Regions from separate parts of the Homo sapiens genome. Here region 1 is linked to region 2. Evidence: promoter capture Hi-C in human tissues and cell types (Jung and others, 2019). All regions are on one chromosome and are shown on one strand. Each heading gives the region's core, a stretch centred on a gene start or on the middle of the fragment in contact. The rest is flanking DNA. Distances are from core to core; before and after follow the strand shown.

Region 1 (3,963 bases), core at 987-3,486, 590 kb after region 2:
AAACCAATGTATTTCTTGTTTGTTTGTTTTTTTGAGATGGAGTTTCATTCTTGTTGCCCAAGCTGGAGCACAAATGTGTGATCTCGGCTCACTGCAACCTCCACCTCCCAGGTTCAAGCAATTCTCATGCCTCAGCCTCCCGACTAGCTGGGATTACAGGCACATGCCACCACACCTGGCTAATTTTTTGTATTTTTAGTAGAAACAGGGTTTCACCATGTTAGCCAGGCTGGTCTTGAACTCCTGACCTCAGGTGATCCGCCCACCTTAGCCTCCCAAATTGCTGGGATTACAGGCCAAACCAATGTCTGTCTTTTTTATTATTTTTATTATTATTATTTTTTGAGACGGGGTCTCACCCTGTCACCAGGCTGGAATACAGTGACACGATCTCGGTTTACTGCAACCTCCGCTTCCTGTGTTCAAGTGATTCTCCTGCCTCAGACTCCTGAGTAGCTGGGGCTACAGGTACATGCCCACCATGCCCGGCTAATTTTTTTTTATTATTTTTTAGTAGAGATGGAGTTTCACCGTGTTAGCCAGGATGGTCTCGATCTCCTGACCTCAAGATCCGCCCACCTAGGCCTCCCAAAGTGCTGGGATTACAGGCCTGAGCCACCACGCCTGGCCTGTATTTCTTAAATGTATTTGATTGATGTCTTGTGCCTCCCTGAAATATATAAAACCAAGCTGTACCCCGAACACCTTGGGCACATGTTCTCAGGACCTCCTGAGGGCTATGTCATGGGCCATGGTCACTCAGGTTTGGCTCAGAATAAGTCTCTAAAAAATATTTTACAGAGTCTAACTCTTCGTCAACAGCACAGAAATCTGTCTCCCTAACTAGACAACAACTGCACTGACAGAATTTGTCTGATATAAATCAGAGTCATGTGCTGCACATTTCAGTCAACAACAGACCACTTATACGACAGTGGTCTCATAAGATGACAATGGAGCTGAAACATTCCTATCACCTAGTATTTACCATTAAATACTTCTTATTGCTATTTTAGAGGGTACTCATTCTACTTATTTTTTAAGAGGGGCCAGGCATAGTGGCTCATGCCTGCAATCCCAGAGCTTTAGAAGGTCAAGACAGGAGGATCCCTTGAGGCCACAAGTTCAAGATCAGCCTGAGCAATATAGCAAGATCCTGTCCTTACAAAAAATACAAAAATAGGCGTGGTGATGAGTACCTGTAGTCCCAGCTACTTGGAAGGCTGAGGCAGGAGGACTGCTTGAGCCAAGGAATTTGGGGTTGCAGTGGGCTATCATCATGCCATTGCATTACAGCCTGGGCAAGGAGTGACTTTTTTTCTTTTTCCTGAGACAGGATCTCATTCCCATAGCCCAGGCTGGAGTGCGGTGGCATGATAGCAGCTCACTGGAGCCTCAACTTTCCAGGCTCAGGTGATTTTCCCACCTCATCCTCCTAAGTAACGGGCACTACAGGCACACACCAGCACACCTGGCAATGTTTTTGTTTTTTTTGAGACAGAGTCTCACTCTGTCGCCCAGGCTGGAGTGCAGTGGCACAATCTCAGCTCACTGCAAGCTCTGCCTCCCAAGTGCATACCATTCTCCTGCCTCAGCCTCCCAAGTAGCTGGGAATACAGGCACCCACCACCACGCCCGGCTAATTATTTTTTTGTATTTTTAGTAGAGACGGGGTTTCACCGTGTTAGCCAGGATGGTCTCGATCTCCTGACCTTGTGATCCACCCGCCTCAGCCTCCCAAAGTGCTGAGATTACAGGCGTGAGCCACCGCGCCCAGCCTTTGTCTTGTATTTTTAGTAGAGACTACTAACACGGTTTCGCCATGTTGCCCAGGCTGATCCTGAACTCCTGGGCTCAAGTAACCCCCACCCCCCGCCTCAGCCTCCCAAAGTGCTGAAATTACAGGCGTGAGCCACAGTACCCAGCCAAGGAGTGGCTTTAAAAGAAAAACAAAGTTAACTGTAAACCAGCCTCAAGCAGGTCTTTCCAGAAGGCACTATTATCACAGGAAATGACAGTTCCAAGTGTGTGATTGCCCCTGAAGACCTTCCAGTGGGACTAAATGTGAAGATAGAAGACAGTGATGTTAATGATCCTGACCCTGTGTAGACCTAGGCTAATGTATTTTTGTCTTTATTTTTAACAAAAAAAGTTTAAAAAGTAAAATTAAAAACTGCTAATAGAAAAATGCTTACAGAATAATGTATAAATATTTTTGTGCCGTTGTACAATATGCATTTGTTTAAGCTGTTATTATGAGTCAACAGTTTTAAATTTTAAAGTATATAAAGTAAAAATATTACAGTAAGCTACAGCTACATTTATTATTGAAGAAAAAATTTTTTATAAATGTAGCGTAGCCTAAGTGTACAGTGTTTATAAAGTCTACAGTAGTATACAGTAACATCCTAGGCTTTCATATTCACTGACCACTTACTCACTGACTCACCTAGAGCAACTTCCAGTCCTGCAAGCTCCATTCATGTTAAGTGCACTGTACAGGGGTACTACTTTTTATTTTTTCTCTTTTAATAGGTTGGGGTCTCCTTCTGTTGCCCAGGCTGATCTTGAACTCCTGGGCTCAAGCAATCCTCCTACCTCAGCCTCCCAAGTAGCTGGGACTCCAGGCATGTGACACCCGTGTGCAGCTACCATTTTTTATCTTTTATACTACATTTTTACTGTACCTTTTCTATGTTTAGAAATGTTTAGGTACATAAATGCTTACCATTGTGTTACAATTGTCTATAATATTGAGTACAGTAGCAAGCTGTACAGGTTTTAGCCTAGGAGCAAGAGGCTATACAATAAAGCTTAGATGTGTGGTAGGCTATACCATCTAGGTTTATGTAAGTACACTTTATGAGGTTTGCACAAGGACAAAAATCACTTAACACATTTTTCAGAACTATCCCTGTTGTTAAGTGAAGTATGGCTGTATTTTGGAACTCTGGAAACAACTGAAGCCTTGCAACTTCCAGGGAAAGGCCTTGATGGCAAATTGCAGTTAATGTCTATCAATTTCAACTCTTAGCAGAGTAGCAGCTACGTTTCCCCCAACTTCACGGCAGGTAGTTGTGTATGTGTTCCTGGAGCAGCTTGCACACAGCTTGCACAAAAAGAACACTGTCTTCCAAATACTGGGGATCTGTGCTGATTCTGATTGCTGCTTCTGATTACAGAGGTGCAGACAAAGTAGTAGCAGAGATTGTTGTTGCTCCTCCCAGCCCGGTTGCAAGCCCCTTTCCCTCAGGCTGAAGTGACTTCCTGGAGATTTAAAGGGCCAATGCTTTTTTTTTTCCTCCCCTGATCATTTATCTTTTTCACCTTTTGGGAGTCAGACATTAAAGAACATTCAAGCAAGGCGCAGTGACTGACACCTGTAATCCCAGTATAGGAGGCCAAAACAGGCAGATCGCTTGAACCCAGGAGTTTAAGACCATCCTGGGCAACATGGCAAAACCCCATCTCTACAAAAAATTAAGTGGGCCTGACGGCACGTGTCTGTAGTCCCAGTTACTCTGGAGGCTGAGGTGGGAGAATCACCTGAGCCCAGGAAGTTAAGGCTGTAGTGACTTGTGATCACACCACTTCACTCCAGCCTGGGCAATGAAGACCCTGTCTCAAAAAAAAAAAAAAAAACTGAATTTTTAAAGGCAACTACATAAGCCTGTCCAGTCATGCATGCTTGTAGTCCCAGCTACTCAAAAGGCTGGGATGGGAGGATTGCATGAGCCCAGGAGTTGGATGGTATAGTGCATTATAATCATGTCTATGAATAGTCCCAGTACTCCTGATTGGACAACATAGCAAGATCCTGCCTCTAAACAAAAATGTTTTTAAGGCATCTACATGTGTAAGGAAAATCAGAAAGTCACTGCACATGCCCAGGGGAAAGTGCAGGCTCAAAAGAGACCTGAGAAGACCTTAAGTTTACACCTGAGGCTGATCCTCAGCACACAA
Region 2 (4,537 bases), core at 2,021-4,520:
TAGAGACAGTGTTTTGCTATGTTGCCTAGGGTGATCTTCAACTCCCACACTCAAGTGGCCTCCCCAAGTGTTGGGATTACAGGCATGACCCACCAGGCCTGGCCCTGATTTACATTTTAAAAACTGCTTTGGTTGCTTAAGACTCTTGTCAGGTGAACCTTTGTAGTGCTGATAATTGTATGTATCTAACTTCCCAGAAAAGGATTTAAATGTGGTATAGAGGTAGGACTACTAATTTACTATTAAGAGGGGTGGGAATGGCTTGCACTGTTTGGTTACTCTGGTAACCACCAAAGTGCTGCATTTTCTAAATTGAAACAAAGTTGGGTGTGCAGAGACAGACTAGAAGTGGAGCTTCATCTCTGAAGTAATGCATGTTGTTCATTGGAGCAGGCTATTTCTTTTGAAGCCTCCTTACTCTGTACATGCAACCTTTATTCCCACCGGGTTCTTAGCAAGATTTAGAACACCTGGAATTCTTGACTCTTGCTTCTTCCATTCATGGCCTCTTTTGCTTTCATACTTCCTTTCCCCCCAATCTCCTCTTCTGAAATAACCTGAACTGTCTATGGTCTTCTTATCCCACTTGTTTGGCACCAAGAGATTATTCCTTCTCTTGGCCCTAATTTGGGCTTCTTGGCATTTTTCCTATATGCCTGATATCTGTGGCCAACCCCCCAAAAAACTTAGAAGTAGATATAATTCTCCATGTGGAAGTAAAGATTCTTGTCCCAACATTGGGTATGAAAAACCTGATCTATAGTCTCTTCTTTTTTTTTTTTTGAGACAAAGTCTCGCTCTGTCACCCAGGCTGGAGTACAGTGATGTGATCTTGGCTCACTGCAACCTCCACCTCCTGGGTTCAAGCGATTCTCCTGCCTCAGCCTCCCGAGTAGCGGGGACTACAGGTGTGTGCCACTACGCCCAGCTAATTTTTGTATTTTTAGTAGAGACAGGTTTCACCATGTTGGCCAGAATGGTCTCGATCTCTTGACCTTGTGATCCACCCGCCTTGGCCTCCCAAAGTGCTAGGATTTCAGGTGTGAGCCACTGTACCCGGCCAATTTTTTGCATTTTTAGTAGAGACGGGGTTTCACCATTTTGGCCGGGCTGGTCTTGAACTTGGGACCTCAGGTAATCCACCCCCCTTGGCCTCCCAAAGTGCTGGGACTGCAGGCGTGAGCCATTATGCCCGGTCAGCCCTGATCTATAGTTATGTTTTTGCTGTTTTAGTTGGAAGTACTTCGAGGCCAGGCTTAGTGGTTCACATCTGTAATCCCAGCACTTTGGAGGCCAACGTGGGCGGATCACTTGAGCTCAAGACCAGCCTGGCCAACACAGTGGAACTGTCTCTACTGAAAATACAAAAAATTAGCCAGGAATGGTGGTTCATGCCTGTAATCCCAGCTATGTGGCCAAGGCAGGAGAACTGTTTGAACCCAGGAGGCAGAGGTTGCAGTGAGCGGAGACCGTGCCACTGCACTCCACCATGGGCTATAGAGACTGTCTCCAAAAAAAAAAAAAAAAAAAAAAAAAAAGCGCAAATCAGGTTCTCAAATTCCTTAACTAAGGAAAAGAGCACAGAATTCTGGACAGATTCTGGATAAGGTACTAGTTATCAATCATGCTCACCTTTGCTTGTTTACCTTCCATAACTGCCACGCAGGAGTTGGTAGTACCCAAATCAATACCAACAACTGCTCCCTTGATTGCTTCTGATCTGTAAGACATTTAGAACAGTGTCACAGCTATTGTTATCTTGATAGACCAAAGTCACTGGAAGATAATATTTAATTGGAAAATTAACAGTGGTATACTACATAATCTCTAAATAAATACAGATAAATAATTACAGAGAAGAATAATCACAAATGTAGAAAACACTGCTTTGAAGTTTAATATGTATTCCCTCTCAAAGGAAATGATATTATACTTACGCATAATCCCGCCTTGAAACAAGTCTAAAAGCCTCATGACTAAGGCCATTCCAGCTATCCTAAAAAAGAAAAAACTGACTCAGTCACCAACCAGTGTGTATCCTGGGAGGAAAAAGAGAAAACTTGGGCTCACTTAGTATATAAAATACATTAAGCTACTAAAACAGTAAATATTAAAGTTTCCCAAATAAGTAAGACGAAAAAAGGTAAATAAAAGATGGCCTTAGAATCACATTACAGTAGGATTTCTCAACCGTGGCGCTATTAATTTTGGGCGAAATTTTTGTGGTGGGGGCTGTTCTGTGCATTGTAGGATATACAGCAGCATCCCTGGCCTCGACACCCTAGAAACCAATAAGCACCCCAGTAAGTAAGTGACAACCTAAAATATCCACAGACATTGCCAGATGTCCCCTGGGGGAAAACACTTCCCCTTACCTTGCCGTGCAATTAGTTTAAAAGAACTAGAGTTACTAAGGGTCTTTGAAAGAAAAAAGAAAAGTAGTGGCGTTTCACTAGGATAAAAGACCTTTATTACAACTTAACCTCAGGCTCCTTCCAAGCCTTCCTTAATGCCCACATACAATTCCTGTTCTCTAAAGCATTTGTCTTTTATTTTAGAAAACAAGTAACCACTCCATAGCCTTTTCTCCGCCCCACGATCTGCTTTTTTTTCTGAAGTAACAAACGAGTACAATCTTACACCACAGATTTTGAGAAAATGTTGCTAAGCACGAAAACTGGAGTTCCGACTCAGAGCTTTCTTATTTTATTTCACCGTATCAACGGGATCCTTACACACTCTGTATTCTGTAGAGGAGCCAAAAATAAAACTGAAAATAGTGGCTTTCCCAATAGACTGCATCCCTCACCCCCAAGGCCAAACCTTTCCATTCAGCCACAGAACAGGCCATGAGGACCACTACCTGGTAATTTTGAAATGACACTCTAGATCGCGAGGGGTGTGACTCAGCAGGGCCCAAGCCGGAGGCAAAACCTTGGGCAAAATCTTGACCCGGCAGCGCTAACTATGGAAGGCCCGTTACCTTCCTTCCCGCCTGACCTATACTGGAGAATTCAAACCCTAAAGGGCGCGCGGCCTGCCGCAGCGAAGCCCGAGGCCCAAGGCCCGAGGCCGTGACCCCATTCGGGAAGGTCCCAGTTCCTCACCTGGTGGCGGGCGGCCGTAGGGCCCCGGGAGGCTGCGGCGCCCACGAGACGGGCTGCTGCAGCTCGGCTGGCACTTATCATGGCGGATAAATGGAGGAGTACGAGGCAGCAAACAAGCGCTCCGACGGCAAAGAGCTGCGCGATGCGGTGGCGGCAGCGCTTCTGGAAACCTCCAACCACGTGGGGTGAGGGGCGGGGGTTGGTCACTGCGGCCCAGAGGCCCGCTCTTCCGCTGAGGCGCCGCCCGCGCCGCCTGACCAGAGGATACTCGACTGCCGCTCCCGGAGCCAGGGCGTACAGGTAATATGCTCCGCAGCATGATGGTTGGAGAAAGCCTGCCCTCCTGTCCCGGCTGCGGCGGCTCTGAGCTCAGAAAGAGTCCAGGGGAGGAAGAGGGATATGAAGGCCGTATCTCGGACAGCCCCGGTCCTCGGCGACAGGAAAGACTCAAGGTCACACGGGATAAATTGCGAACCGATTACAGTCTTCTTGCGTCAGTTGCGCGGGAGGAGGAGCCTGTTGGCGCAACAGACATCCAGCTAAGAACCTAGAGCGCATGTGCGCAAGGAGTGGCGGAAAACATGGGTGGAGACTAACTGCGGCGCTCACTGGGTGCCCGAGTGCACGCCAGCGTTCCCTGGGGCGAGCCCGGGCGCGTGCACACCCCCCGGGCGTGGACGTGTTCCCAGCTCCCGCTCCTGGAGGACGGCGCCATCTTGTCTTGTGGCTTTGTGAAGTGAGGACGTCAGTACTTTTGTTGTTTGGTCCCGCCCGTTGTTCACAACTTGAAAGACACTTGGATATGCAGACAGACGTTAAACAATTTCGTGTTGCGTTTTATCACAGGGGTCTTGGGTTTCCAACTACGAAGCGTTTGATTCACACAGAACATTAGGCCAATTAGCCTGCACAAAGGGAAAAAAAAATAGCTGAGCTTGGCCGGGCGCTCACGCCTGTAATCCCAGCACTTTTGGGAGGCCGAAGCGAGCGGATCGCGAGGTTAGGAGATCGAGACCATCCTGGCTAACACGGTGAAACCCCGTCTCTACTGAAAATACGAAAAAGTAGCCGGGCGTGGTGGCAGGCGCTTGTAGTCCCAGCTACTCGGGAGGCTGAGGCAGGAGAACGGCGTGAACCCGGGAGGCGGAGCTTGCAGTGGGCCGAGATCGCGCCACTGCACTCCAGCCTGGGCGACAGAGCGAGACTCCGTCTCAAGAAAAAAAAGAAAAATAGCTGAGCTTCAGGCTCTTCCTCTCCCCACTGTGCTGGGCCTGACTTGAGACTCCTCTGGCCCTTTTTAAACCTTGTGCTGGTGGCAGGATGTCAACTACTTCACTACCCTGTGACCAGTTTTTAGGTTTTTGTTTTTTTTTTTGAGGCAGTCTTTGTCGCCAGGCTTGAGTGCAGTGGCGCCATCTCGGCTCACTGCA

The links. The method cuts DNA at HindIII sites, captures the fragments that hold promoters and counts their contacts. A contact is called where the count stands out against the background at its distance.
Region 1: a contact is called between a fragment that was not itself captured here and the fragment with the promoter of HSPA9 in region 2, in 1 of the 25 tissues and cell types used here (IMR-90 fibroblasts).

Annotation. Positions count from the first base shown.
Region 1 is chr5:139,165,333-139,169,295 of GRCh38, forward strand. All of the region lies in intron 1 of SIL1 (SIL1 nucleotide exchange factor), which reads right to left. Among named protein-coding and RNA genes, the nearest start is that of SIL1, 31 kb to the right of the region's middle. The HindIII fragment of the contact is 8,384 bases long and covers 1-3,963 here.
Region 2 is chr5:138,572,131-138,576,667 of GRCh38, forward strand. HSPA9 (heat shock protein family A (Hsp70) member 9) reads right to left here and starts at 3,271. Exons shown (of 17, transcript NM_004134.7): 1 at 3,108-3,271; 2 at 1,938-1,996; 3 at 1,633-1,720. The coding sequence starts at 3,188. The region is part of intron 1 of LOC105379193 (a long non-coding RNA gene); the gene reads left to right. RefSeq lists enhancers at 2,852-3,499, 3,016-3,065, 3,306-3,585, 3,500-4,148, 3,726-3,865. The HindIII fragment of the contact is 16,836 bases long and covers 1-4,537 here.